Linked DNA regions of Homo sapiens: all the other regions are linked to region 3. The links are contacts of gene promoters, found by promoter capture Hi-C in blood cells and fetal thymus (Javierre and others, 2016). All regions are on one chromosome and are shown on one strand. Each heading gives the region's core, a stretch centred on a gene start or on the middle of the fragment in contact. The rest is flanking DNA. Distances are from core to core; before and after follow the strand shown.

The links. The method cuts DNA at HindIII sites, captures the fragments that hold promoters and counts their contacts. A CHiCAGO score of 5 or more calls a contact.
Region 1: a contact is called between a fragment that was not itself captured here and the fragment with the promoter of KHK in region 3, in 1 of 17 cell types (total B cells). The highest score is 6.0, in total B cells.
Region 2: a contact is called between a fragment that was not itself captured here and the fragment with the promoter of KHK in region 3, in 2 of 17 cell types (neutrophils and naive B cells). The highest score is 6.1, in neutrophils.
Region 4: a fragment that was not itself captured here is called in contact with the fragment with the promoter of KHK in region 3 in 1 of 17 cell types (naive B cells); the score reaches 6.1 in naive B cells.
Region 5: a contact is called between a fragment that was not itself captured here and the fragment with the promoter of KHK in region 3, in 1 of 17 cell types (total B cells). The highest score is 6.6, in total B cells.

Annotation. Positions count from the first base shown.
Region 1 is chr2:27,349,436-27,352,135 of GRCh38, forward strand. All of the region lies in intron 1 of GTF3C2 (general transcription factor IIIC subunit 2), which reads right to left. Among named protein-coding and RNA genes, the nearest start is that of GTF3C2, 6.0 kb to the right of the region's middle. The HindIII fragment of the contact is 7,047 bases long and covers 1-2,700 here.
Region 2 is chr2:27,484,215-27,486,914 of GRCh38, forward strand. It overlaps IFT172 (intraflagellar transport 172), which reads right to left. Exons shown (of 48, transcript NM_015662.3): 2 at 1,146-1,289; 3 at 804-916; 4 at 13-52. Among named protein-coding and RNA genes, the nearest start is that of IFT172, 4.2 kb to the right of the region's middle. The HindIII fragment of the contact is 1,126 bases long and covers 702-1,827 here.
Region 3 is chr2:27,085,507-27,088,213 of GRCh38, forward strand. It overlaps KHK (ketohexokinase), which reads left to right and starts at 1,266. Exons shown (of 8, transcript NM_006488.3): 1 at 1,266-1,845. The coding sequence starts at 1,754. It overlaps EMILIN1 (elastin microfibril interfacer 1), which reads left to right. Exons shown (of 8, transcript NM_007046.4): 8 at 172-897. The coding sequence ends at 509. RefSeq lists enhancers at 250-469, 1,460-1,519 and silencers at 600-759, 810-1,269. The HindIII fragment of the contact is 6,666 bases long and covers 1-2,459 here.
Region 4 is chr2:27,586,002-27,588,701 of GRCh38, forward strand. All of the region lies in intron 2 of ZNF512 (zinc finger protein 512), which reads left to right. Among named protein-coding and RNA genes, the nearest start is that of ZNF512, 4.3 kb to the left of the region's middle. The HindIII fragment of the contact is 2,913 bases long and covers 1-2,700 here.
Region 5 is chr2:27,404,805-27,407,504 of GRCh38, forward strand. All of the region lies in intron 1 of PPM1G (protein phosphatase, Mg2+/Mn2+ dependent 1G), which reads right to left. Among named protein-coding and RNA genes, the nearest start is that of PPM1G, 3.4 kb to the right of the region's middle. The HindIII fragment of the contact is 200 bases long and covers 1,256-1,455 here.

The DNA.
Region 1 (2,700 bases), core at 167-2,666, 260 kb after region 3:
TGCGCCCAGCCCTGATTTGATTTTAAAAGACAAATAACTATATGCTTTTCAAGAGATGCCTAAAACAAAATAACTCAAAAAGCTGAAAATACAAAGATCAACTAAAATGTACAGGGCAAAATCTAAGCAAAAACAAAGGAGGAGTTTTGATGACAATAGTAAAGTCGAATTTAGGGGGAAAACATTAAATAGGAATAAAGGGAGTACTATTTTTTTTTTTTGAGACGGAGCCTCTCTCTGTTGCCCAGGCTGGAATGCAGTGGCGTGATCTCGGCTCACTGCAACCTCTGCCTCCTGGGTTCAAGCAACTCTCCTGCCTCAGCCTCCCGAGTAGCTGGGATTACAGGCATGTGCCACCATGCCTGGCTAACTTTTGTATTTTTTAGTAGAGACGGGGTCTGGCTGTGTTGGCCAGGCTGGCCTTGAACTCCTGACCTCAAATGATCCCCCTGCCTCAGTTTCCCAAAGTGCTGGGATTACAAGCATGAGCCACTGTGCCCAGCCCAAAAGGGAGTAGTTTATAATGAATAAAACTTCAAATCATATAAAAGATATAAATGTCAGGAACATTTAAACATCAAATAACAGCATCAAAAGATACAAAGCAAAATGTTCATGACACAGAACAATAACTTCTTTTAATCAATGACAAAGTAGATAAGAACAATGAAGATATAAATAAAATAAATATTCCCCCCATATTGGCTCAGTTGCATAGAACAGAATCCTCTCCAATCAGTTCAAGCAGAAAGGAATTCACTACACGGTATTAAACAGTTCATATCAGAGGTTCACAAAGTGTGGCCCCAGAAACTGCAGCATCAGTATCACCTGCAAATTTGTTAAAATGCAAATTCCTAGTTCTACCCCAGACCTACCGAATCAGCAATTCTGGATGGGGCCAGCACCTTGTGTTTTAACAAGCTCTTCAGGGGATTCTGACGCACACTCAAGCTGAAAAACACTTGCATAAATAAATGATCACGATGAGGGTTGAGGGAAAAACAGTTGGTAGGAACAAGTGCTTATCAAACTGGGAAGGTGCTCTTATTTACAGCTGCTGGCTCAAGAATCATGTGCTGGGCTGGGCGCAGTGGCTCATGCCTGTAATCTCAACACTTTGGGAGGCCAAGGTGGGAGGATCGCTTGAGGCCAGGAGTTCAAGATCAGCCTGGGCAACACAGCAAGACTTTGTCTCTGCAAAAAAATTTTTTTTGAAAATTAGCTGAGGCTGGGTGCGGTGGCTCATGCCTGTAATCCCAGCACTCTGGGAGGCTGAGGCAGGTGGATCACCTAAGGTCAGGAGTTCCCGACCAGCCTGGCCAAAAGCGATGAAACCCCGTCTCTACTAAAAAATACAAAAATTAGCCAGGCGTGGTGGAATATGCCTGTAATCCCAGCTACTCGGGAGGCTGAGGCAGGAGAATCGCTTGAATACAGGAGGCAGAGTTTGCAGTGAGCCGAGACTGCACCACTGCACTCTAGTCTGGGCGACACAGCAAGACTCCATCTCAAAAAAAAAAAAAAAAAATTAGCTGAGTGTAGTGGCATGCAACTGCAGTCTTAGCTACTTGGGAGACTGAGGTGGGAGGATCACTTATGCCCAGGAGTTGAAGACTGCAGTGAGCTATGATTGTGGCACTGCATTCCATCCTCACAGAGCAAGACCCTGTATCTAAAAATAAAAAATAGCAGGCCGGGCATGGTGGCTCACGCCTGTAATCCTAGCACTCTGGGAGGCTGAAGAGGGCGGATCACCTAAGGTCAGGAGTTTGAGACCAGCTTGGCTAACATGGTGAAACCTCGTCTCTACTAAAAACACAAAAATTAGCTGGGCGTGGTGCCACGTGCACTTGTAGTCCCAGCTACTCAGGAGGCTGAGGCAGGAGAATCGCTGGAACCTGGAAGGTGGAGGCTGCAGTGAGCTGAGATCGCGCCACTGCACTCCAGCCTGGGTGACAGAGTGAGACTCCATCTCAAAAATATAAAATAAAATAATAACAAAACATATGCTATGATGGGAAACCACCTGCTGAATCAACAAGCCCCTACCACAGCCAATGGCTCCATAAACAAGTTGTGTCTGCAGTAATCAGAAAGTGACCTAACTAAATAGGAGAGCCGCTTCTCTAGCTCCTGATCCAGAACCTCATCACTGCCAAAATCTGCACCAGCAAATACATGCCTCCTAGTCTGCCTTTCTCCTCTCTAAAATCAGATTCAAATTTAAGTTCTCCAGGAGCATATTTGATTTGTAAAACCTAAATCATATTCAGAATCTTGGATGCAAAAAATTCCAGACAATGAAATTTCTCACTTTCCAGGCTCTCAAGTGGAAGTTGCTCATTCACTCACATCCCACCTACCTCAGGGTTCAAAGTGGGATCAGTCCCTTCAATTCCTCTGCAATGCCACTTGCAGACCAACAGTCCCACACGCCCCCCATCTTGTAAAAATCTTGTTCCTTTGATGCTTAGAACATTCAGCTAAACCGCAGCTACTCACTTTGCTGTCATTCTCTGAACCTTGTCATCACCCAAACCTCTTAACCTCCAAAATCACTAAGACATCTAACTATCTGATCTCCCATCATTACAGCTAGACTGCTTACCCACTATCACTTTTATTCTCCAGCTGTATCAAGCCACTATCCCTTGATCTCTCCAATTTCTCTGTATGTCAGCCACATCCTATCTAGTT
Region 2 (2,700 bases), core at 15-2,514, 400 kb after region 3:
TCTGAACTTTACCGTCTGGATGAACTTGTTGCAGATGACTTTCTTGTCACCCCTGCCAAACAAAAGAAGGGGAAACATATTAAAAACCACTTCCAGGCCGGGCGTGGTGGCTCATGCCTGTAATCCCAGCACTTTGGGAGGCCGAGGCGGGAGGATCATGAGGTCAGGAGATCGAGACCATCCTGGCTAACACAGTGAAACCCCGTCTCTACTAAAAATACAAAAAATTAGCCGGGTGTGGTGGTGGGCGCCTGTAGTCCCAGCTACTCGGGAGGCTGAGGCAGGAGAATTGCGTGAACCTGGGAGGAGGAGCTTGCAGTGAGCCACAATCGCGCCACTGCACTCCAGCCTGGGTGACAGAGTGAGACTCTATCTCAAAATAAATAAATAAATAAATACCACTTCCATAAACAAATTGCCAAAAATGATGCTGAGGGAAGAGAAGAAAGAGCAGATTTCTTCCCTGGCCCAGTAGTATTTCTGACTACTCTGTAGGAGCCCTGAAAGGAGGTATATGAGGGAGCCTAAGCAGCTTCAGAACAATAACAAAGATGTGACATCACTCTGGGCTTCCAGGATCTCACAGGGCCTCCTGTTGACCTTGGACTGTTTCCTCCAGGGATGGGATTGAAGAACACGTGGGACAGGTGAAGGCAGAAAAGCAAAAACAGACTCCAGAAAGTCTCTGCCTTCAATGGCCAAGCTTGGCTTCTCATCCCCTGTATTTCCCCTCCCCAGTGAGGCATTTCTCTTGCCTTCCCCTTCTTTCCTGGGCCATCCCATCTCCCAGTCTCTATCCTCACCAATCTTCTCCAATCTTGTAGACATAGATGATGTTGTCAGTCTGTCCTATGGCAATTTTAGTGGAATCAGGAGAAAAAGCCATGCCCTTCACCATATAGCTCTTCCTGCCATACTAAGAGTTTAAAAAAAAAAAAAGAAAGAAAAAGAAGTAATGAGTACACATGAAAGAGAAAAGAGAAAAAAAGGCATATGTGTGCTCCTAAGGGAGCTTGAGGATTTATACTGAGAAAAAGGTGGGGTATGCCATTTCCTATGCTGATGGCTAGAAGGCAGACTACGTCTTTCAAGTTGTGAGACCCCATCAATAGGTTAAATAAGGTACACATGAATACACTGTTTACCTTCATGTCAGCTGGTTTGGTGGAGAATTTATCTCTCCGTTCTCCATGTTCATCATACAGCAAGACCACTCGGTCCACTGTGCAGACAGCAAATTTGGCATTGTTCTGGGACCAAGCCATGCAGGTCACCTTTGCAGCTCCATCCTGTAGAGGCAAAGGGGTAAAAACAAACCCATGTGCTGGTCTAGAATGCCAAAAGCATTTCTAGCTTCATTAATTCTAGTGTAATACTGGTCAATTTTCTTCCTGTCACGGTTCTATCCTCAAAACAAAGAGATGCCTGTGGCCCATGCTGGTCTCCAAGGCCTTCAGATCCTGGACTGTGAGAACAACAGGCTTCTAGAGACTCATATGCAAATGCACTAAGAGGCAGGGTGCTAAGTCAACTGTATCAATGAATCCCTGCAACGGCCTCCTCGTTTCCAGGTCTGCTACTGAAATAAATTCAATTAGTCTGGTAAGTTTTGGTCATTAGCCATTCATTCAATTAATATTTTTTTAGCACCTTATTGATCAAGGCACTTGGCCAGGGGCTGAGAGAGAGACAAAAAGCAAACCATAGATCCTGCCTCCACGTCTAATAAGATGGTGCAAAATAGAAAAGTCCTATTAAAGTATGTATAAAGTACTACAATAGTTTGGAGAAGCCTGAGAGAATTTTATGCTTAAATTATCAAAATTAAGCTTTGAAGAATGAATGCAGTTGAGTAGGAAGTTATCTGAGATGGGAGGAATGGCAATGAGCAAAGGCAAATTCTGGACAAGAAACAGTAATTTAGTTTATTTGAAACTATTATACCTTATAAATAGTAGAATAGACGGGGTAAGGCAGGAAAAACAGGCCAGCTCAGGAAGTCTTTGAAGCCAGGCAAAGGAGTTTGGGCTTATTTGAAAGGAAAGGGAGAGACAGTGAGAGTTCAGGATGGGCGAGTACGAGTTGAGACTCAGGACGAATAATCCCACTTTCTTTTCTTCTTAACTACCCACTTCAGAGAAACCCAAGTTAGAAGTTATCTCCAGGTGAATTATTCTGACCAGATCTGACCCTTCCAACACTAGCTCTGGTCCTAAGGGACTAGCTCTGCTACTAAGGGTTTCCTTCCTTGAAAACAAAACATTTTATTCTGCTTTTCTTCTGCCCCAATTGTTTAATTATTTGGACACTAGAGTTCTGGCTTCAAACATTGACACTTTACACTCCAAACTCACCTATCTCCAAAGTCAGAAGTAAAAAGTCTATTTTCCTGCAAATCCTCAAACCAGAAAATAGCCACACCACCATCACTATGATCCTCTAACTCTTCATTATATTAGGTTAGAAGGCCTGAGGGCTCCTCATCAATCTTTGCTGATCCTCCTGCTTTATCGCTTTGCCCAATTCTGGGCATTCAGCCCTACCTGCATCATGACATCATCTTATTTTGAGAGACTGAAGGAGGATTTCATTTCCAATTTTTCCATTAGGGCGGAGAAATTTTTAAAGTACAGATTCAATGGACAGCTTGCTGAGCAATGAGCACAAATCTCTGTCTTTTTATTTTTTTCTCCAACTGAG
Region 3 (2,707 bases), core at 16-2,515:
GCCCAGGCACTGTTTTAAGTGCTGGGAATGCATAGTGAACAAAGCCCCCAGTTCCCTGCCGCTCACATTCCAGTGAGGTGAAAAGACCCAGAGGGTCCCTCCTCAGTCCAGGAGTTCTGGTGCGCTCCCCGGAGCTTCCCTGGCCCCCCTGACTGCTATCCTTGTCCCCAGGCGTGTTCACAGCGCCACTGGCTGGACGCTACTTGCTGAGCGCGGTGCTGACTGGGCACCGGCACGAGAAAGTGGAGGCCGTGCTGTCCCGCTCCAACCAGGGCGTGGCCCGCGTAGACTCCGGTGGCTACGAGCCTGAGGGCCTGGAGAATAAGCCGGTGGCCGAGAGCCAGCCCAGCCCGGGCACCCTGGGCGTCTTCAGCCTCATCCTGCCGCTGCAGGCCGGGGACACGGTCTGCGTCGACCTGGTCATGGGGCAGCTGGCGCACTCGGAGGAGCCGCTCACCATCTTCAGCGGGGCCCTGCTCTATGGGGACCCAGAGCTTGAACACGCGTAGACTGGGGTCCCGCCCGACGTGTCTACGTCGGCTGAAGAGACAGCGGGGGCGGCGGGCTCCTGGGGTCTCGCCTGAGACGGGGCACCTAGCCCTGGGCGAGCGCCGCACCCGGGCCCGCAGCGGCACCGCGCCCAGAGCGGCCTCTCCCCACGCCCGGGGCGCGCCGGCTCAGGGAGGCTCGGGGCCGCCCATGCAGACTTTTGGCCTGGCGCGATCCCCCAAGAACCCCTCCAGGGCCGGCCTGCGGAGGAGCCGATCCTCGCACCCTCCGCTCCCTCCACTGGCCCTCCAGGTCGATTCCCTGGGCTCCAGGCTCCCCCGCGCGGGCGCCGCCCACCGCCATACTAAACGATCGAGGAATAAAGACACTTGGTTTTTCTAAAAAAAACTAAACGAACCGTTCTGCTACGGTACGGGGTCGGGGGCTGCCGGGCGTGCACAGGGCACGGGGCGGGAGAGACGACGGCCTCCGGAGAGGACCCCGGGTTCCGCACTGCGTTCGCCGCCTCCGCCCGGCTCGGGGCGGCTCGGGGTTGGCTCAGGCAGCAAGCGGCGCCCGCCCGGCTCCTGCGACGTCTCCCCCGTGTCACGCCCGTTTCGCCGGCGTCCGCCAGGGGGCGCTCTGCGTTCCCGCCACGTGAGGCTGCGGCCCACCCGGCGGGTCCTGCTCCTCCGCGGCGGAGGCGTGGCCTCGGCTGGGACTAACCGGGGCGGGGCGGGGCGGGGCGGGGCGGGGCCGCCGCGACCGCGGGCTTCAGGCAGGGCTGCAGATGCGAGGCCCAGCTGTACCTCGCGTGTCCCGGGTCGGGAGTCGGAGACGCAGGTGCAGGAGAGTGCGGGGCAAGTAGCGCATTTTCTCTTTGCATTCTCGAGATCGCTTAGCCGCGCTTTAAAAAGGTTTGCATCAGCTGTGAGTCCATCTGACAAGCGAGGAAACTAAGGCTGAGAAGTGGGAGGCGTTGCCATCTGCAGGCCCAGGCAACCTGCTACGGGAAGACCGGGGACCAAGACCTCTGGGTTGGCTTTCCTAGACCCGCTCGGGTCTTCGGGTGTCGCGAGGAAGGGCCCTGCTCCTTTCGTTCCCTGCACCCCTGGCCGCTGCAGGTGGCTCCCTGGAGGAGGAGCTCCCACGCGGAGGAGGAGCCAGGGCAGCTGGGAGCGGGGACACCATCCTCCTGGATAAGAGGCAGAGGCCGGGAGGAACCCCGTCAGCCGGGCGGGCAGGAAGCTCTGGGAGTAGCCTCATGGAAGAGAAGCAGATCCTGTGCGTGGGGCTAGTGGTGCTGGACGTCATCAGCCTGGTGGACAAGTACCCTAAGGAGGACTCGGAGATAAGGTAGGGGCGCCCAGGTCCCCTAGGGGACCCCAGGGGCTGCTGCAGTCCAGCATTTGTGCCAGCGACCGAGGCTGCAGAGACCCCGCAGTGAGGCCCTGAGAACCCGGCTTCAAGGCCGGACCCGCGCCCTCTACCCGGGAATCCTGGGGGGGCTCCCAGCATGACAGAAGAGAGGAAGGAATTGAGGCCTTTAATAAGAAGACCCAGGATTTAATAGCATCGTGTTAGCCAATTTCCATTTCAACTCAGGCATCAGGTGTCAGGTGTCAGGCATCAGGATCCCCATTTTACTGATAAGTATAGATTCAGAGACCAAGGGGCTTATCCAGGGGCACACAGCTACCTGCTTCTGCTGTTTCTTTTTAAACCCCAAGCCTATGCACTTGCCTCTCATCAACATTTACTTCTAACTTATTTATCCACATATCTCGCACCTATTTCTGAGAAAGATTTGAGGTAGCTTACAGTAAAAAGTATGTACAGTTAAACTGTTGGAGAACATTTAAGACCATGGTATTTGAGCTTCAACTATAGCTCAGGGCTTGCTGGCACTGGAGGCAAACATGAGATGCCATGGGTTATGTATGGATAGAGCTGGTTCATGAGCCCTGGCAAGCTTTTTCCTGGTGCTAAATTCCAAGAGGAGTTTACCAGAAGTCCTTTTCACAGAGGTCAATGAACACCGTTTAGTAGTGGGAAATATCTTTCTCAGTTGTCTGCTAGAAACTGAAGAGTCAGTTGTTGGTTCTTTTTTTTTTTTTTTTTTTTTTTTTTTGAGACAGGGTCTCATTCTGTCGTCCAGGCTGGAGTGCAGTGGTGCAACCATGCTCACTGCAGCCTTGACCTCCAGACTCAAGTGATC
Region 4 (2,700 bases), core at 47-2,546, 500 kb after region 3:
GATTCCCTAACCACCTTGATTTAATCTCCAAGAGTTAATTATGATCATATGAACTGTTGCCTTTTCAGTATGCTTATGCTTATTCATAAGAGGGTATATGGGTACTGTATTTCTGAGTCCTACACTGATAGTAAGAAATTCCTACATGGAGAGTTTCCTAAGAGTTATTACATGGGACTCAGCTCTTAATGGCCTGTTGGTACCATCAAGTCTTTGTTGTTGTTGTTGTTGTTGTTGTTGTTGTTGGAGATGGAGTCTTGCTCTGTCGCCTAGGCTGGAGTGCAGTGGCATGATCTCGGCTCACCACAACCTCCACCTCCTGGGTTCAAGCAATTCTCCTGCCTCAGCCTCCCGAGTAGCTGGGATTACAGGTGCACACCGCTGTGCCCTGCTAAGTTTTTGTATTTTAGTAGAGAAGGGGTTTCACAGTGTTGCCCAGGCTGGTCTTGAACTCCTGAGCTCAGGCAGTTCGCCCATCTTGGCCTTCCAAAGTGCTAGGATTACAGGCATGAGCCACTGCGCCTGTCCCATCAAGTGTTTCTAGCATTGTTTGGGATGGTAGGTTTTGGCCTTAGAGGCCTGCCAGTCCATTAATTTTTAAAAATACCTTTATTGAGGTATAATTAGAGTACAATAGACTGCACATATTTAAAGCGTACACTATGGTCAGCTTTGACGTATGTCTGTACCCGTGAAACCATTGCCACAATCAAGATAATAAACATTTTCATCTCTCTCAAAAGTTTGTTCATGTCTCTGCCATTTCTTCCTCCACTCCTGTCCACGGGCACCACTGTACAGTGGTTTGCATATTCTAGGATTTTATATAAATGAAGTCACACAGTATGTTCTCATTTTTTTCATGATTTCTTTCACTCAGAATAATGATTTTGAGATGACAAATAGTTTTTATTGCTGGGTAGAATTCCATTATGGATACCATAATTTGTTTAGCCATCTATCTTGATTGACATTTGAGTTATTTTCAGTTTTAGGGTGTCAAACAATAAGGCTGCTGTGAACGTTCATGTACAAGTCTTGTGTGGACAAATGCTTTCATTTCTTTTGATAAATATCTAAGATGGTATTTACCATCCTAGGTTGGTTGATTCATATGGCAGGAGTATGTTTAGCTTTTTAGGAAACTACCTGCTTTCCAAAGTGGTATTATTTTGCATTCCTACCAGCAATGTATGAGTCAGTCTTTTCAATTTTAGCTAATTTAATGGGTGTGTAGTGGTATCTCACTGTGGTTTTAATTCATGGGTTTTTTTTTTTTTTTTTTCTTTTTTTGAGACAGTGTCTCCCTCTGTCACCCAGGCTGGAGTGCAGTGGCCTGATCCTGGCTCACCGAACCCTTTGCCTCCCAGGTTTAACTGATTCTTCTGCCTTAGCCTCCTGAGTAGCTGGGATTACCGGTGTGCATCACCACGCCTGACTAATTTTGGTATTTTTAGTAGAGATGGGATTTCACCATGTTGGCCAGGCTGGTCTCGAACTCCTGACCTTAAGTGTTCTGCCCACCTTGGCCTCCCAAAGTGCTGGGATTACATGCTTGAGCCACCACACCTGGCCTAATTTGTGGTTTTTAATTCATCATATATGAATAATAATGTTGAGCATCTGTTCGTATTCTTTCTTTTTTTGATCTTTTTTTTTTTGCATCTGTTCATATTCTTTTTTATTTTATTTTTTTTGAGACAGAGTTTCACTCTTGTTGCCCAGGCTGGAGTGCAATGGTGCAATCTCGGCTCACTGCAACCTCCGCCTCCCAGATTCAAGCTATTCTTCTGCTCACCCTCCGGAGTAGCTGGGATTACAGGCATGTGCCGCCACGCCTGGCTAATTTTATATTTTTAGTAGAGACGGGGTTTCTCCATGTTGGTCAGGCTGGTCTCGAACTCCCAACCTCAGGTGATCTGCCCACCTTTGCCTCCCAAAGTGCTGGGATTAACGGTGTGAGCCACCGCGCCCAGCCTTCATCTGTTCCTATTCTTATTGGCCATTTGTGTGTCTACTTTTGTAAAATGTTTACATTTTTGTCCATTAAAAAAAGTGGGTTATCTTATTGAATTGTGGTATTTAAAAAAATCTGTCCTGAATACAACTCGTTTGTCTGTTATACTTCCTTCCAGTCTGGTTTGTCTTTCATTTTCTTAATGATGTCTTTTGAAGAGCAAAAGGTTTAAATTTATCATTTTTTTCTTACATTTCATGCTTTTATGTATCCTATTTAAGAAACCTTTGCCTCCCTGGAGGTCGTAGCGAGTCAAGGTGGTGCCACTGCACTCCAGCCTGGGCGACAGAGCGAGATTCCGTCTTAAGAAATAATAATAATTAAAAAAAAGAAACTTTTGCCTCCCTAATTGCAGAGATTTTCTGTGGTCTTTTCTCCTAGAAGTTTTATAGGTTTTATATTTAGGTCTGTGACTCATTTAGAGTTAATTTCTGTGAATGTTTTATGGTAAGGGTCAATGTTGACTTTTTTTTCTATTTATATACCCAGTTGTTGGAAAGAGTTTTCTTTCCCTACTGAATTGCCTTGGCATCTTTGTCAAACTTCACTTGGACATGTATATGTGTAGGTCTGTTTCTGGACTCTCCTTATTCTGTTCTACTGATGTTTATTTAGACTCTTGAAATCAGTAAGTCCTCTAACTTTAGTGTTCTTTTTCAAAATTGTTTTGGTTATTCTCAGTT
Region 5 (2,700 bases), core at 106-2,605, 320 kb after region 3:
ATGGTGGCAGGCGCCTGTAATCCCAGCTACTCGGGAAGCTGAGGCAGGAGAATCGCTTGAACTCAGGAGGCAGAGGTTGCAGTGAGCCAAGATCATGCCATTATACTCCAGCCTGGGCAACAGTGCAAGACTCCGTCTCGGAGAAAAAAAAAAAAAAAAAAGACTACATCAACTGAATCTATTTTCAGATTTGACTTCTTATTTAGCCAACAAAAACTCAAGGGCCTTACCTTATAATTTTTCAGGCACCCCTCCACAACCTACCTCATTTTTTTTTTTTTTTTTTTAAGATGGAGTCTCACCCTGTCGCCCAGGCTGGAGTGCAGTGGTGCGATCTCGGCTCACTGCAACCTCCGCCTCCCAGGTTCAAGCGATTCTCCTGCCTCAGCCTCCGGAGTAGCTGGGACTACAGGCGTGCGCCACCATGCCCAGCTAATTCTTGTATTTTAGAAGAGACAGGGTTTCACCATATTGGCCAGAATGATCTCGGTCTCTTGATCTCGTGATCCGCCCACCTCGGCCTCCCAAAGTGCTGGGATTACAGGCATGAGCCACCGTGCCCAGTGCCTACCTCTTAATCCCAAAGTACATACCTCATCCACTTTTTTCATGGAGAAAGGAGGAAGGAGGAGAACATCAACTGTGGTGGTTTTTTTGTTTGTTTTTTTGAGACGGAGTCTGTCACCCTGGCTAGAGTGCAGCGGTGAGATCTCGGCTCACTGGCCTTCCTATTCAAGCAATTCTCTGGCCTCTGGCTAATTTTTGTATTTTCAGTAGAGACGGGGTTTCACCATGTTGACTAGGCTGGTCTCGAACTGACCTCAGGTGATCTGCCCCCCTCGGCCTCCCAAACTGCTGGGATTACAGGCGTTAAGCCACCACGACTGGCCTGTGGTATTTTGATTACCTTTTCTCAAAACACCCTGGTTGCTGGGCATGGTGGCTCACAGCATTTTGGGAGGCAGAGGCGGGCCGATCACCTGAGGTCAGAAGTTCGAGACCAGCCTGACCAACATGGAGAGACCCCCATCTCTACTAAAAATACAAAATTAGCCAGGCGTGGTGGCACATGCCTGTAATCCCAGCTACTCAGGAGGCTGAGGCAGGAGAATCGCTTGAACCCGGGAGGCGGAGGTTGCAGTGAGCCGAGATCATGCCATTGTACTCCAGCCTGGGCAACAAGATAGAAACTCCGTCTCAAAAACAAAACAAAACAAAACAAACAACAACAACACCCTGGTCACACAGGAAGAGAAGCTTGAAACAGGCAGAAAGTAAAAATGCCAGCTATTGATGATTGCCATTTTTGTCTCAAGAGTCCTCTCTACGGCTAAATCTATCCATCAGTCAGCATGTCAACAACCTTTAGTGGTATGATAACCTTACCTCAAATGAAGCATTAGGACCAAGCAAATAGGGTAAATAAACTTTATTAATTTTTGGATTAAGCCCTAAAGCTTCAGAGGAATGGGAGTACTTTATATTTTCTGGAAAGATAAGATTCAGGGAAGAGGCTAGAACTCATAGTTATTTTCTTGCAATAGCAAAGAAACTATGCTACACTTTGAAGAGAAAAAAAGCCAGAAGGAACACTATCAATGAAGCAGAATAGGATCCCAAACAATACTCTTCAAGAGGATTTGATTAGGCATATTTAACTATTGATTAGGCATATTTATTCAAACAAGGGCAACTTCAGAAACAGCACATTAGCAAGATTTTAATACCCTAAGCAGTTATCTCTCAGGAGGAAGATTAGGATGTAAGGAATAGTCTAGTAAGATCTCTACACACTAAACCGTCCCTGACAAAAAAAATCATTTTCTAATTGAGGAGAAACCAAAAATAAAGGGAAATGCCCTACAGAGAAGCAGCAAATAGTATGGAATCACTGGGCAAACCAACGTGAAACACTGAGTAGCCAAGCAACTCAATCCGTAAGTAAAAGTAGAAAGAAGGGTACCAAAGAAATGAAAAAACAACAGCAGAGAAGTGAAAAATATTAAATGAGAAACCTGGAAGAAACGTTTTACTGCGAGATGGAATATTCACCTCAAATCTCACAACGTTAACAGAAAATGCCATGGAAATGGAACTTCTTGACTACCTACTTTACAAAAAGACTTTCCTACGAAACTATACCCAGATTTATTTATTTATTCTTTTTTTTTTTTTTTTTGAGACAGTGTCTCACTCTGTCGCCCAGGCTGGAGTACAGTGGCACGATCTTGGCTCACTGCAACCTCCGCCTCTGGGATTCAAGCGATTCTCCTGCCTCAGCCTTCCAAGTAGCTATGATTATAGGCACGCACCACCACATTCAGCTAATTTTTTGTATTTTAATAAAGACGGGGTTTCTTCATGTTGTCCAGGCTGGTCTCGAACTCCTAAGCTCAGGCAATCCGCCCGCCGCAGCCTCCCAAAGTGTTAGGATTACAGGCATGAGCCACCATGCCTGGCCTATTCATTTATTTTTTGAGACAGCGTCTCGCTCTGTCACCCAGATTGGAGTGCAGAGGGGCGATCTTGGCTCAATGAAGGCTCTGCCTCTCAGGCTCAAAGTGATTTTCTATCTCAGCCTCCCAAGTAACTGGGACTACAGGTGGGTGCCACCATGCCCAGCTAATTTTTTTGTATTTTTTGTAGAGACAGGGTTTTTGCCATGTTGCCCAGGCTGGTCTCGAACTCCTGAGCTCAGGT